5 separate regions of the Homo sapiens genome follow, and all the other regions are linked to region 1. The links are contacts of gene promoters, found by promoter capture Hi-C in human tissues and cell types (Jung and others, 2019). All regions are on one chromosome and are shown on one strand. The core of a region is centred on a gene start or on the middle of the fragment in contact, and the rest is flanking DNA. Distances in the headings are between cores, read along the strand shown.

Evidence for each region. Contacts are between HindIII fragments. The study calls those that stand out against the background at their distance.
Region 2: a contact is called between a fragment that was not itself captured here and the fragment with the promoter of RPL26L1 in region 1, in 1 of the 25 tissues and cell types used here (stomach).
Region 3: a contact is called between the fragment with the promoter of STC2 here and the fragment with the promoter of RPL26L1 in region 1, in 1 of the 25 tissues and cell types used here (lymphoblastoid cells).
Region 4: a fragment that was not itself captured here is called in contact with the fragment with the promoter of RPL26L1 in region 1 in 1 of the 25 tissues and cell types used here (lymphoblastoid cells).
Region 5: a fragment that was not itself captured here is called in contact with the fragment with the promoter of RPL26L1 in region 1 in 1 of the 25 tissues and cell types used here (mesendoderm cells).

Annotation. Positions count from the first base shown.
Region 1 is chr5:172,958,004-172,960,703 of GRCh38, reverse strand. It overlaps RPL26L1 (ribosomal protein L26 like 1), which reads right to left and starts at 1,280. Exons shown (of 4, transcript NM_016093.4): 1 at 1,236-1,280; 2 at 663-839. The coding sequence starts at 830. RPL26L1-AS1 (RPL26L1 antisense RNA 1) reads left to right here and starts at 1,336. Exons shown (of 4, transcript NR_026682.1): 1 at 1,336-1,414; 2 at 2,447-2,565. The HindIII fragment of the contact is 17,043 bases long and covers 1-2,700 here.
Region 2 is chr5:172,677,727-172,680,426 of GRCh38, reverse strand. The region is part of intron 2 of NEURL1B (neuralized E3 ubiquitin protein ligase 1B); the gene reads right to left. Among named protein-coding and RNA genes, the nearest start is that of MIR5003, 17 kb to the right of the region's middle. RefSeq lists an enhancer at 2,265-2,700. The HindIII fragment of the contact is 3,003 bases long and covers 1-2,700 here.
Region 3 is chr5:173,327,070-173,329,769 of GRCh38, reverse strand. STC2 (stanniocalcin 2) reads left to right here and starts at 1,356. Exons shown (of 4, transcript NM_003714.3): 1 at 1,356-1,727. The coding sequence starts at 1,577. It overlaps LOC124901137 (a long non-coding RNA gene), which reads right to left and starts at 1,171. Exons shown (of 2, transcript XR_007059056.1): 1 at 19-1,171. RefSeq lists a silencer at 1-162. The HindIII fragment of the contact is 8,569 bases long and covers 1-2,700 here.
Region 4 is chr5:173,219,224-173,221,923 of GRCh38, reverse strand. No RefSeq gene overlaps it. Among named protein-coding and RNA genes, the nearest start is that of NKX2-5, 15 kb to the left of the region's middle. The HindIII fragment of the contact is 5,980 bases long and covers 1-2,700 here.
Region 5 is chr5:173,262,843-173,265,542 of GRCh38, reverse strand. No RefSeq gene overlaps it. Among named protein-coding and RNA genes, the nearest start is that of NKX2-5, 29 kb to the right of the region's middle. RefSeq lists an enhancer at 1-345. The HindIII fragment of the contact is 6,740 bases long and covers 1-2,700 here.

The DNA of each region.
Region 1 (2,700 bases), core at 31-2,530:
TAAGCTCCAATCACAGAGAACAGAGGGCTTGTACGTTCTCACATGGGCCAGTCTTTTAGAAATTATGAAAGAGTGACTCGCTGCATCTTTACCAGTTCTCCTGCCAAATCCAATGCTATCACATGGCCAGCTCCCACAAATCTCTGTCCATCAATCCCACTACACCCAAATACACTAAAACACTACTCTCACTGCAGCACCTTCCCCTACAGTCTGGTTCAACAAGCCACCCTGGGCAACAACACTTGGCAAACTAGCAGCCAGAAGGTTAAATCAAAAGTATTTTTGGTGGGGCACGGTGGCTCACACTTGTAATCCCAGTGCTTTGGGAGGCTGAGGTGGGAGGATCACTTGAGGCCAGGAGTTCAGAGACCAGCCTGGGCAACATAGCAAGACCCTATCTCTACAAAACAAACAAAAAAGCAGGTTTTTGCTTGGTTGACATACTGTTTTATTAAATTTTACTATTACTATTAAATAATTAAATGCTCTAAAGCAACGCAGGCACTCTCTGGTGGCTCTGAACCCTATCTCTGGCCTAACACATCTGAAGGGTCACACTACTTTCCAGAGTCCTGAGGCATGTGAGTCTGTGACTGCTCCACGCATGACGTTCTTAGGCAACGGTGTCCGAGCGCCACTAGCGCCGGAGGGAGACGTACCTGGACCTCGTCGTCCTTGCGGATGGGCATGGAGCGGACATTGTACTTCTGCCGCAGCTCCTTGGAGAGCGGGGATGACATGATCTTCCTGCGCACGTGTGAGGGGGCATTGAAGTGACGTTTGCGGTTTTTACTGCGGTCCGAGGTAACGAAGGGATTGAACTTCATGGTGACCCTCTACAAAGGGCGGAGAGAGACGGAATGAAGGGGCGCTCAGTGGGTTACAGGGGCCTGTTCTCGACCCAAGACACTCCTCATCCCCCAACAAAGGCTCTACAGGGGAGGTAGCCTCTGAAAAGGCAACTGAGGGAGGACAGAGAGATGCGACTAGTCTGACTATCACATAAAGTGAGGCGTGTGTGGAGGTCGCATGCCCGTCTAAAGGGGTCGTGGGGGAGAGGGTAGCACTGGGACCTTGAGGCTGAGGAAGGAATGCTAGGGTTAGGCAGGAATGGGTGGTCGGGAGGTCACTCAAAGAGAGCTGTGGGGTGACATGTGTTCCCGCGACACATAGGGCAGGGTCTCACGGGGCGGTAGAGTTCACTGTCCGAGAAAACTCCAGCCTCCACTCACCCGGCTACTAGCTGCCTCAGACCCTGAGTGCGCAGGGCCGGAAGTGAGTTTCCGTGCCGCGCAAGCGCAGAAAGACATCGAAGCCCCATTTCCGTAGGAGCGAAGTCGAATGGCGCCCCCAGCGGCTTGGGGTGGGATCTCAGTGCCTCATTCCTGGCGGCCCCGGGAGGGCGATGCCAGTGAGTACAAGGGCCTGCTTGTGTAGGGCCTGCGGTAGAGGCTTACTGGTGTTCTTTTTTTTTTTTTTGAGACGGAGTCTCGCTCTGTCGCCCAGACTGGAGTGCAGTGGCGCGAGCTCGGCTCACTGCAAGCTCCGCCTCCCGGGTTCACGCCATTCTCCTGCCTCAGCCTCCCGAGTAGCTGGGACTACAGGCGCCCCCCACCACGCCCGGCTAATTTTTTGTATTTTTAGTAGAGACGGGGTTTCACCCTGTTAGCCAGGATGGTCTCGATTTCCTGACCTCGTGATCCGCCCGCCTCGGCCTTCCAAAGTGCTGGGATTACAGGCGTGAGCCGCCGCGCCCTCCTACCTCTACTTTTTTCTATCTCTGGGACTAAACGGCGGCCGGCGGCGTGCCTGCGGGTTTGTGGCCGCCGCCCCGCCCCTCTCTCCTAGACCCCGCCCCTCTCATCCAGTCCCCGCCCACTCCGGCCGCTCCGCGCCCACCTGTGGCCCTCTTGGCCCTTCTGCCCGTGCCTGGCCCCGCCGGGTCGCTCCCGAGCTCCGCGTTTCGTTCGCCGACCCCTGGAAGACTGCCTGGAGGCCCGGGCGCCACCCAACCACTGGCTAGGCCGACACTTTGCGCGGACCCTGGGTGTAAAAGGTCCCCGGGTCTCTGGTCCCGACGGAGCTGTGAGGGAGATCAACCACGCCCCCTCCGTGGGCACCGTGGCGGCAGGGAAGGAAAAGGGCTCTGGGTCTCGACTCTCTTCGGGTTAAGAACCGACGGGGTTTATTCTATGCAAGGTGTTATTAACTCCAACTCTCCCTTTCGTTCATTCATTCCATATATGTTGAACGACAACTTAGTGCCAAATGCCGGCATGCTGAAACTCAGAGAGGGAAGATGTCTTGCAAGTACAGCAGCCACACCCAGGCAGGTCCCGTGCTCTCTCTTAGTTTATCAGTGTTCCCTGACATGTAGTGGTGACATTGTTAAACACCTGCGTTTACTAATACTAGATTTTTTTTTTTTTTTTTTTTGAGATAGAGTTTCGCTCTTGTTCCCTGGGCTGCAGTGCAGTGGCACCATCTCGGCTCACCGCAACCTCCGCCTCCCAAGTTCAAGCGATTCTCCTGCCTCAGCCTCCCCAGTATCTGGGATTACAGGTATGCGCCACCACGCCCGGCTAATTTTGTATTTTTAGTAGAGACGGGGTTTCTCCATGTTGGTCAGGCTGGTCTTGAACTCCCGACCTCAGGTGATTCTCCCGCCTCGGCCTCCCAAAGTACTGGGATTACAGG
Region 2 (2,700 bases), core at 13-2,512, 280 kb after region 1:
CCCCCCCGCCAACTCTCCTCCTCTTGTCCCCCAGCGGCTCCACACAGGAGCCCATCAGTGCAGCATCCTTATTAAGAGCATGGCCTATGGAGACAGGCGGACTTAGATTCAAGTCCTGGCTTTGGCTTTTACTGGCTATGTGACCTCAGGTATGCCATTTCACCTCCCAGAGCCTCAGCTCCCTCAGCATAACATAGAGTGATAGAGTGATAGTGGTAAACACCCCCATGTTATGGAAATTACTGTCATGAAGAGTAATACAGAGCATGGCACTAAGTGCTCAAAACATTAATTATGATCATAAAAACGTATAGAGCACTCACTGTGGGCCCAGCGCTGCTGTGTGCTGGGTGAACAGAGGTGAACACACAGGCGTGGCTCCTGTGCTTATGGAATTCCCTTTCAAGTGGGAGATAAAGGCTCTACGAAGCCATCTTACAGAAAACTGGGCCAAGTGCCACCAAGAGCCTCTGTCCTATGTGGGGAAGTGTCAGTGGGGGAACTCTGAGGCTCCAAGAGGTCACACAGCTGGGGAGTGACAGAGCTGGGATTCTCTGAGGGTGTATAAAGGGGGACTAAGGCCAGAAAAGGCCTCCCTGACTGATCAACAGGCTGCGACCTGGAGATAAGGGATCTGTGGCCGGGCAGGTTCTCCAGGCACAGAGAACAGCACATGTGAAGGCACTGAGGTGCTGGAAGCTTGGCGTGTCTACAAGGCTGGGTTATAATGAATGTGACATTGTGCTGGGTACCTGGCACACGGCAGCCCCTCAGAAAAGGTTGCATGGCCTCACTTATTCTTTGTGGAAGGAGCTTTGTTCCTCTTGGGCATGGGCCCTGATTGAGACAGGCCCAAGACAGCACAGCGCCAGCCTAGGCCAGACACTTCAGAATGCATTGCTCAAAGGGGCATTTCTTCTAAGGAGAACCAGTCGGCTATAGGCAGAAATCCAGCAACATCAAGAGGCACCGAGGGAGCGTGTCGAGACTGCCCAGCTTCTACCGGTGGCTGAAACAAGTACACACATAACCACGTTCTCGAGCGCCTGCTAGACGCAGCTCCATACCCTGATGGTCCCCTTTGGTCCTCACCACTATCTTATGTGGCTCTGTAAAATGGGCACATTTCACAGTGGGAGAACACTGAGGCGCTGAGAGGTGGAGTGAGTTACTGAAGGTCACATAGCCTGGGGGTGACAGACAGGATTCCAGCCCAGGCTTTGACTCCAGAGCAAGGCCCCTGGCTAGCAATACTGCCTCCCAATGCTGCTGTTGTCGTTCAGCTCTGAGAGCAGCCCAGCACCGGGACTTGGCCTCCGGCCAAAGTTGGAGTTTCAGTCTCCACGGGCCTAATGTCCCCGCCTCCCTGCCATGAATAGCCACTGAGTACCAACACACTGCAGCAGTCCCCAGTCAGGTACGAGGAGGCTGGGACAGGCCCCTGACCTCCCACTCTCCCAAGCCACTTCCAGGGCCTAGCTCTTCCCTTTTTCCCCTCCCCTTTCTCTCTTAGGTCCAATATATCTGGGCTGGAAGTAAAGCAAAATGTATGTCTCAAATGAAACCATCTTGGTGTAGACACGAAAATGAAGGCAGGGACAACTGGGGACAGAGAAACATATCCATCAATCACCACTCTGTGGGACTGACTCGGGCCATGTACTAGAGGCAGAAATGACAGGACTCACTGACAGAATGGATCCAAGGCAAGGAAAAGAGGAATCGAGAATGACACCGGGTTACTGGCCAACCAAGGGGGTGGTGTCACTTACTGCCAATGGCCAACCAAGGGGGTGGTGTCACTTACTGCCAATGGCCAACCAAGGGGGTGGTGTCACTTACTGCCAATGGCCAACCAAGGGGGTGGTGTCACTTACTGCCAATGGCCAACCAAGGGGGTGGTGCTACTTATTGCCAATGGGGCTGGCTGAGGAGCAGGAGGTGGGGGATTCAAGAGTTGTGTCCGAGCATGTTCAGTGTGGGATGCCCCTCAGATGTAGGAGGAGAGGCTGGATAGGTGGTGGGAGGCCTGGGGTTCAAGGGAGGTGTCAGGGCTGGGAAGATGGGTTTGGGAGTCAACAGTCTAGATGTGAAGCCCAATGATGGGCTCAGATAACTTGGAGAAAGAGGGCAGACAGACACAGGCTTGTTTTATGACAATCTGTTGAATGCTACAGTTGTTCTTAGATGCCTTCCTATATGCATATTGTATTACACAATTTAAGAAAGTAAAAAGGAAAGAGTGGGCCCAGGATAGAACCATGGGGCTTTCAACATAGGGAGGACAGGTAGGGCGAGGGGTGGCCAGGAAAGCAGGAGGAACGGCGGGAGCTCGGGAAGGCCCAGGAGCCACAAGCAGCAACATTCACACAGCCGGGAGAGGTCACCTGGGCTGAAAGCGAGGGGCCCGGTAGTGGGCCCAGGATGTAGGCTCAGGGTCTGACAGGCTGAAGGTCAGTGATGGGCAGGGACTCACGCCTCAGGGCACAGCTTAAGAGGGAAAAGGAGAGGGTGGCATAACCAGCACTTAAGAAAGACCTGCCCTGAGGGAGGGAGGGCAGAGAGACAGGACTGTGGCTGGTGAGGGGGCTGATGGAGGGTGTTTTGAAAAGACGGACGCCACCGGGGCTCTTCTGTGTGCTCATGGGGGTGATTCCGTGGAGGCGGAGGAAGTAGACAAATGACAGGAACCATGTCTAT
Region 3 (2,700 bases), core at 107-2,606, 370 kb before region 1:
GCTGGTACCGGGGCTCACCTGTTCTCCAGGAGGAGGGTGGGGACGGGGGGAGGGGCGAGTGCGCGCCAACGCCGGGTGCGTGCCCTGGGGCGCTTGGGCGCGGCGCTCGTGTCCCCGCCCTCCCCCAGCCCTGCGAGCCCCCCGAGCTGCGCCGTGGGGTGACGGGACCGAGAGCAGTTCCTGTCCCCGGCCCCGGCGCGGGGGAGACGTGAGCGTGCACACGTACACACACAGCAGGGGAAGAGGCGCTCCAAGCGGCGCCCAACTTTCTCCTTCCCTCCACGGGCCGGGTGAGAAAGTAGCCGGGGGCTATCCCGACCCGGCGGTTCTTGGGGAGGGGGCCGAACAAGAAAAGGGAGGAGATGGAGATAACTTCCCCGGATTTAGCTTTTTTGTCTTTGTTTTTGTTCTCACCACTTCCATCGGATGACTGGAGAGTAAAAGGGAACCCGGAGCGGGGTGGCGAGCAGCGCTTTGAGAAAATGCAGGAGTGTGTTTGGAGACGCGTAAAGTTGCCTTTCAAGCTCTGGCCTCCGGGCACGCGATGCTCCGCGGCGGGCTGACTCAGGGCTGCCTTGGGCCTCCCTGCCACCCTCCTGGAAATGATGCAAGTCCTGACTGTCACCTGGATCCCTGCAGCCCAGCCTGGAATGCGTCTGGATTAGGGGAAAGACGAGAAACGACACTCCAGGTGTTGCACGGCCCACCAAAGCGGGAAGATAGGGCAGTTGCTCAGACCAAATACTGTATCTAGTGCTTCTGCTCCTATCTTCAATCGTGGGGTTCTTTTTAATGCAAAGTGTCACAAGGCCAGGAATTCCCATGTGTGCTCAGTTGGCCCACAGCATCATTGTGCCTAGGAAACTGCTTCAATTTATCAAGTCCTCTGGGCTGGGAATCTCACTGAATTCCAAACGGCGGAAAGAGGAAACTTTCCCAACCCGATGTGGGTGTGACGCGAGCCAGGGGCCCCAGGGACACTGTCCCAGAGCACACCGTCCCCCTTTAACAGCAACTGGAGCTTGGATTCGCTCTTATATTGTACAGTCCTTTCGACCATTGCCCTGGAGCACCCGCACACGCGCACGCATCTCCGGCCGCGCTCACACACACTCATACACACGCACGCAAACGCGTGGCCGCCGCCAGGTCGGCAACTTTGTCCGGCGCTCCCAGCGGCGCTCGGCTTCCTCCTGTAGTAGTTGAGCGCAGGCCCCGCCTCCCGGCCGTGTTGTCAAAAGGGCCGGGGTCTCGGATTGGTCCAGCCGCCGGGACAACACCTGCTCGACTCCTTCATTCAAGTGACACCAGAGCTTCCAGGGATATTTGAGGCACCATCCCTGCCATTGCCGGGCACTCGCGGCGCTGCTAACGGCCTGGTCACATGCTCTCCGGAGAGCTACGGGAGGGCGCTGGGTAACCTCTATCCGAGCCGCGGCCGCGAGGAGGAGGGAAAAGGCGAGCAAAAAGGAAGAGTGGGAGGAGGAGGGGAAGCGGCGAAGGAGGAAGAGGAGGAGGAGGAAGAGGGGAGCACAAAGGATCCAGGTCTCCCGACGGGAGGTTAATACCAAGAACCATGTGTGCCGAGCGGCTGGGCCAGTTCATGACCCTGGCTTTGGTGTTGGCCACCTTTGACCCGGCGCGGGGGACCGACGCCACCAACCCACCCGAGGGTCCCCAAGACAGGAGCTCCCAGCAGAAAGGCCGCCTGTCCCTGCAGAATACAGGTAAGTGCATGTGCCCCCGCAGCCGGGAGCTACTGGGAGAGGACACCGTGCACCCACGCGGCGCGCCCCAGGCGTTTCGCCGGGAGCCAGGCGCCCACCCAGGGCCACGCAAACTCTTGGGATGGCACGGGACGTGCAAAGGGAAGCGCGAGGCAAGGCGAGGTCCGCGCCGGGCTCCGAGGGCCCGGAATCTGCACGTGCTAGCAGGGTGATGAAATGGCTGGGGCAGGACTTGTTGCTGTCCTCCCCAGGGTCGAGGGGAAATGAAGCAGCGTCTGACGCTGCCAGCGCCAGCCCCCGCCCCCGAATCCCGGGTCCGGTGCAAAGCGCGCTTCATCCCGGCCGGCACGCGGGAGGCCCAGAGGGTCCCCGGAGCTGGGCTGCGCCCTGCGCCCGGAGAACTTCTCTTCCTGGCCTGCCGGCCTCAGTAAGGGTGCCGCGTCTTCCCCCTCCTCAAAAGATGCCCGACATCCCAGAACTTTGCCGGCGAGACAAATGGCATTGCGAACTTTCCCCCTGGGGGCACTGCTTTCGGAAGGGAGCGTGAGGGCAGCGCAAAGCGTACCTCCGCGGTGCTGCCGCCATCCCCAGCTCCTGGCCAGGTCAGCAAGCCAAGAAATGGTGACACGACCCGAACCGTGCGCCTCCTCTGCTCTACCGGCTCTTGGCTCACCGGCAAGCTGCAAAGCAGAGCCAGGCGTGCAGGGCACGGGGCTGGCCCTTTTCCCAGCTCGGAAAGAGAAAGAAAATCTGCCTACAGCTCCTTCGCTCCACGACCCCTCCCCCGACTTTGGGGGGCCGTGTGAACGCGGCAGCGGCGGCGTGCGTGCGCTCACCGCACGAGCTGGAATGCACGAGTGCCCATTAGGGACGCCCCAAGTGAGTGAATGGCGGCCCTGTGCGGTCCTGCCCCGGCGGCGCGTGGGGTCTTACGGATCCTGTCGCCTCCACATGCTGGGGCCGGCACCCCCAC
Region 4 (2,700 bases), core at 140-2,639, 260 kb before region 1:
GGGATTACAGGCATGAGCCACCATGCCTGGCCGTATTTCACAATTTTAACATGCACTTCCAAAATTAATCATGGACTTTCACTACTTCACTTAGAATCAGAAGGCTCCACTTAAGATATATACATGCACGCATACATACATATATATATATGTACACACACACACACACACACACACACATATATATAAACATTTTAAACAAGGTCTTGCTGCCACCCAGGCTGGAATGCAGTGGTGCAATCATAGCTCACTGCAGCTTCAAACTCGTGGGCACAAGCAATCCTATGTCAGCCTCCTGAGTAGCTACTACTACAGGTGCTTACCACCACACCAGCTAATTTTTAAATTTTTGTAGAGATGAGATCTCGCTTTGTTGCCCAGGCTGGTCTAGAACTCCTGAGCCCAAGCGATCTGCCCGCCTCGGCCTCCCAAAGTGCTGGGAGTACAGGAATGAGCAGCAATATAACATTGTCAGAAAAAATTATGACCCTTGTGCCTAAACAACTCATAATTCATTTTTCTCCCTTTCAAAAGTTAGTACAGAAACGCATTTATAACCAAATTTATGAGATTAAATAAGCACATTTTCATCATTTACTCAAATGTTCATCCTTGTTTTCAGTAGATTCAGATGACCTGGAATTCCCCACCCCAAGCCCACCCACCCATTGTCTTCTGAAAACAATCACTTCCAGCTTGTGAAATAGTAAAATTTCACTAGGTCAAAGGTTCTCAAACATTTTGGTCTCAGGAAGCTTTTATATTTTTTAACAATTATTGAGGGCCTGGAGTGGTGGCTCATGCCTATAATCACAGCACTTTGGGAGGCCGAGGTGGGAGGATCACTTGAGGCCAGGGGTTCAAGACCCACCTGACCAACATGGCAAAACTTGGTCTCTAATAAAAATACAAAAATTAGCCGGGTGTGATGGCACATACCTGTGATCTCAGCTACTCAGGAGGCTGAGGCAGGATAATTGCTTGAACGCTGGAGGTGGAGGTTTCAGTGAGCCAAGATTGCATGACTGCACTCCAGCTGGGTGATAGAGGGAGACTGTCTCAAAAAAATAAATAAATCATAATAGGCCAGGCATGGTGGCTCACACCTGTAATCCCAGCATTTTGGGAGGCTGAGGCCGGCGGATCACCTGATGTCAAGAATTCGAGAGCAGCCTGGGCAACATGGCAAACCCTTGTCTCTACTAAAAATACAAAAATTAGCCAGGCGTGGTGGTGCACACCTGTAATCCCAGCTACTCGGGAGGCTGAGGCAGGAGCATCACTTGAACCCAGGAGGCAGAAGTTGCAATGAGCCGAGATTGCACCACTGCACTCCAGCCTGGGTGACAGAGCAAGACTCTGTCTCAAAAATAAAAATAAAAAATTATTGACAACCCCAAAGAGCTTTTGTTTAGGTGGGTTATATCTCTTGAGATTGATCATGTTAGAAATTAAAAAGTGAGAATTTTGTAAACATTAATATTAATGTTTATTAATATGCATTATTAATACTAATCAATTTGTGACTAGTTACTAATTCATTTCAAAATTATAATACACTCATTACATGAGCTCTGAAATGAAGAATGAATGAGAAGCAAAGATAGATGTAAATAAGTAAGCAAATGTAAGCAAATCCTGACTATAAAGTGTAGGGTTTAAAAAGGGGGAAGCTGGCCAGGCACAGTGGCTCATGCCTGTAATCCCAACACTTTGGGAGGCCGAGGCAGGAGGATCCCTTGAGCTCAAGGAGTTTGACACCAGCCTGGACAACATGGCAAAACCCTGTCTCTACAAAAAATACAAAAATTAGTAGGATGTGGTGGCGTGCACCTGCACTCCCAGCTACTCGGGAGGCTGAGGTGAGAGGATCACCTGAGCCTGGGAGGTAGAGGCTGCAGTGAGCAGTTCACTCCAGCCTGGGTGACAGAGTGAGATCCTGTCTCAAAAAAAAAAAAAAAAAAAAAAAAAAAGGCAGGGGTTGCAGAAAGCTAGAATTAAAATACCAGACAACAATAACTTCTAAGTCAGGAGGAATTAAATGGAGTTAAAGTGTGTTAGTTTCCAGAAAGAGGGTGGAGGTTTTGAATCATTGTAGATTTTTCCAGCAAGGCTGTATTTCTTGACCTGGCTGGCTGTTATATGGGTGTTACTTTATTACTAAGTAAAACCGTGAATATGTGTTTTTAGTAAGTAAAACTGTGACTGTGTGTTTTATGCCTCATGCTGTATGTATAGCTAACAGTTAAAAATATGCTTTGAAATTTTTCACAAAACGTCAAAGGAAATGTCAAAGGACATACAGTGACAAATCAAAGGATATACAGCGACAAGGTATCCAGAGATACCTTACGCACAAACAAGCAAACAACTACTTCTTTTCTTACCCTTTCTACATAAGTGGTAGATTTTCATCTTACTGTTTTTGCATCTTGCCTTTTTTTACTTAATTTTATTTCTGGAGATTGTTCCATATTAGTTTCTAAAGGAAGTCTCATTCTTTTTATTATACCTACATACTATTTCACTGCATGGATGTACTATAATTTGTTTAACTAGTTCCTGTTAAAACTATTTCCATTTTGTCTTACAAACGATGCTGCGATGAAAAACTTTATTGTCATTTTGTATAATTACAAGTACATTTATGTAACAGATTATGATTTTTTTATTAAGGTTTTTAATGATGCCAGGCACAGT
Region 5 (2,700 bases), core at 160-2,659, 300 kb before region 1:
TTCACAAAGGCCAAAACAAGTGTGAGCCCCAGAGGGGCCCCTGCCAGGTGGCAGGCTGAGCTGCCCAGGGAGGTCAAGGTTTGGAGGTTTTCTTTTAACCAAGTCCAGGGATCCTCACTGCTGCACACTGTGGGGTCTGCTCACGGAAAGTTATTAGACACAAAAACTAAAGAAAAAGAACTAACCCGGGGACGCTTCCTGAAATGCAATTATGGGGGAAAAGAAATGAGAAAAAGTACGATAAAAACTCACCTGATCATCCAGATTCAAGATTTGACTTGCAGAATGGTGTACCATTAACCTGCCTGATGTTTAGAAAGCAACAAAAGAGACCACCTGATGCAAATTGCTCTGGGCACCTGCACCCTGGGGCTGGGAGTCAACAAGGGCCCTCCTTCCCACAGGGCTCAGATGCCTTGGGAAATCTAGGGTGTAGGACCTGGGCTTTAGCACCTCACATTTACACTGGGTTCCAGGTTTCCATGTAGCTTATCCCATTTGCTCCTGCAATAATCCAGGAGGCAGGTAAGCCCAGTGTTAACAATCTAATTTGACAAATGAAGAAAGAAAAGCACATGTGACCCAAAGTTTTTTTTTTTTTTTTTTTTTGAGACAGAATCTCGCTCTATCGCCCAGGCTGCAGTGCAGTGGTGCCATCTTGGCTCACTGCAACCTCCGTTTCCTGGGTTCAAGCAGTTCTCCCTGCCTCAGCCTCCCGTGTAGCTGGGATTACAGGCGCCTGCCACCACACCTGGCTAATTTTTGTATTTTTAGTAGAGACAGGGTTTTACCATGTTGGCCAGGCTGGTCTCGAACTCCTGACCTCAAGTGACCCGCCCACCTCGGCCTCCCAAAGTGCTGGGATTACAGGGGTGAGCCACCGTGCCCAACCTCAACCCAAGGTCGTAGAAGTAATTAGTTACCATGCTGAGACTAGAACTAATAAAATCTGGAAGGGTGAACTCCCATTATCAGTAATAGCAAAGTACGTAATTCAGACTGCCCTCCATTCCACTGAGGACAACTGGGAATGCTGCAGAATAAGTAAATCCTAAATCAGACAAATGGGAAAAAAATCACGAAATGTCTTGGAATACATAATGAAGAGGGATATTGTCAAGCCCTCTCTGTTACTTTGCCCAGCACATTTAGAATTGAGGGTTATTAATCGATTCAAAGTAAATAATGAAATTAACCTGCCCTTCATCTCAATAAATGTAAAATAATAAGCCAGGAGTGGTGGCACACACCTGTAGTCCCAGCTACATGGGAGGCTGAGGCACGAGGATCACTTAAGCCTAGGAGTTCAAGGCTGCAGTGCACTAGAAGGGCACCTTTGAATAGTCAGTGCACTCCAGGCAGGGCAACAGAGCAAGACCCTGTCTGTAAAAGAATAAAATAAATGTAAAATAATTTATGATGATGGTGATTCTTAAATGATGATCACTTTGTCTCAGGTGTAAGGATTTGTCACTAAAGCATACAAAAGTAAAATAAACTGAAAGAAAAATCTGTATAGACTGTGAGAATTTTATTGGTCAGATGAAATGAAAAAGATTATCAGCTTATTTTGCTGCTGTTTATAAGCATCTGTTGTACGCTTTTAATAAATTTGATAATTATTCAAAATAAAAAAAAAAACCGAACTGCTTAAAGACACCAGAGAGCTACAAAATAGTGAAGAATAACCAGCCAGGACCCAAAGGAAGGAGGAAGCCGTGCGAAGTGAGTCTGTCCTTTGAGCTACCCTGGGCCTGGCAGCGTGGGCCAATTCTACCATGGCTGGCAGAGAGGCTGGGTGGACTTTCAAGAGCCTCACGGGGCTAAAGGGGCAGGGACGAATGTGAAGCTTACCAAGATTAGAGTTGAGATTCATCTTGAACTGGGATTCTAAAGGGAAGCTCCCTACAAGTAAATGTGACCCAGAAGCAGACAGGCCCTTGCAGAGACCATGGCTCCACTTCAGGTATTCTAAACCCCCGAAATTAGATTTCAGTAAACCTAAATTGTCGGTGCCCCAGGAGCCTAGCAGAGACAAACATAAATCTTCTTAGGAGGAAAATATCATCATCTGAAGCCTATAATTAGTTCTGCAAGCAATTTTTCAAATGCAATGTCCAAAACACAGTAAAAAATAATAAGCAAATAAATAAGACACAAAGAATACAAAGCAGTATTTTTTAAAGAAAGAAAAATTAAATATAGAAAAATCAACTAATAATAAAGAGGCTGGGCATGGTGGCTCATACCCATAATCCCAGCACTTTGGGAGGCAAGAGGATTGCTTGAGCCCAGGAGTTTGAGGCCAACACTAGTCAGAGTTCATACACAGTCATTTCTACAATACACTATTGGTTACCAGGTCAGTCCTACTCACTGTTGGAGGGGAGTAGGAGCTTCAGTTCTCCATGTGGCCTCCTATCCTTCCAGAATATCAGGAATTGAGAATCACCAAGGTCCGTCTTGGAAGCTGGCTACCACAGGTGGCCAGAGTGGAACTGAATTTTTTCTCACACTCCAGTAGATGGAACAAAATAGCAATGCTGAGAGAGGAAGTACAGAAATGGAAATTAGCTGGGCATGGTGGCACTTAGTCCCACCTACTTGGGAGACTGAGGTAGGAGGATCACTTGAACCCAGGAGGTCCAGGCTGCAGTGAGCCATGATTGCACCAATACACTCCAGCCTGGGTGACACAGA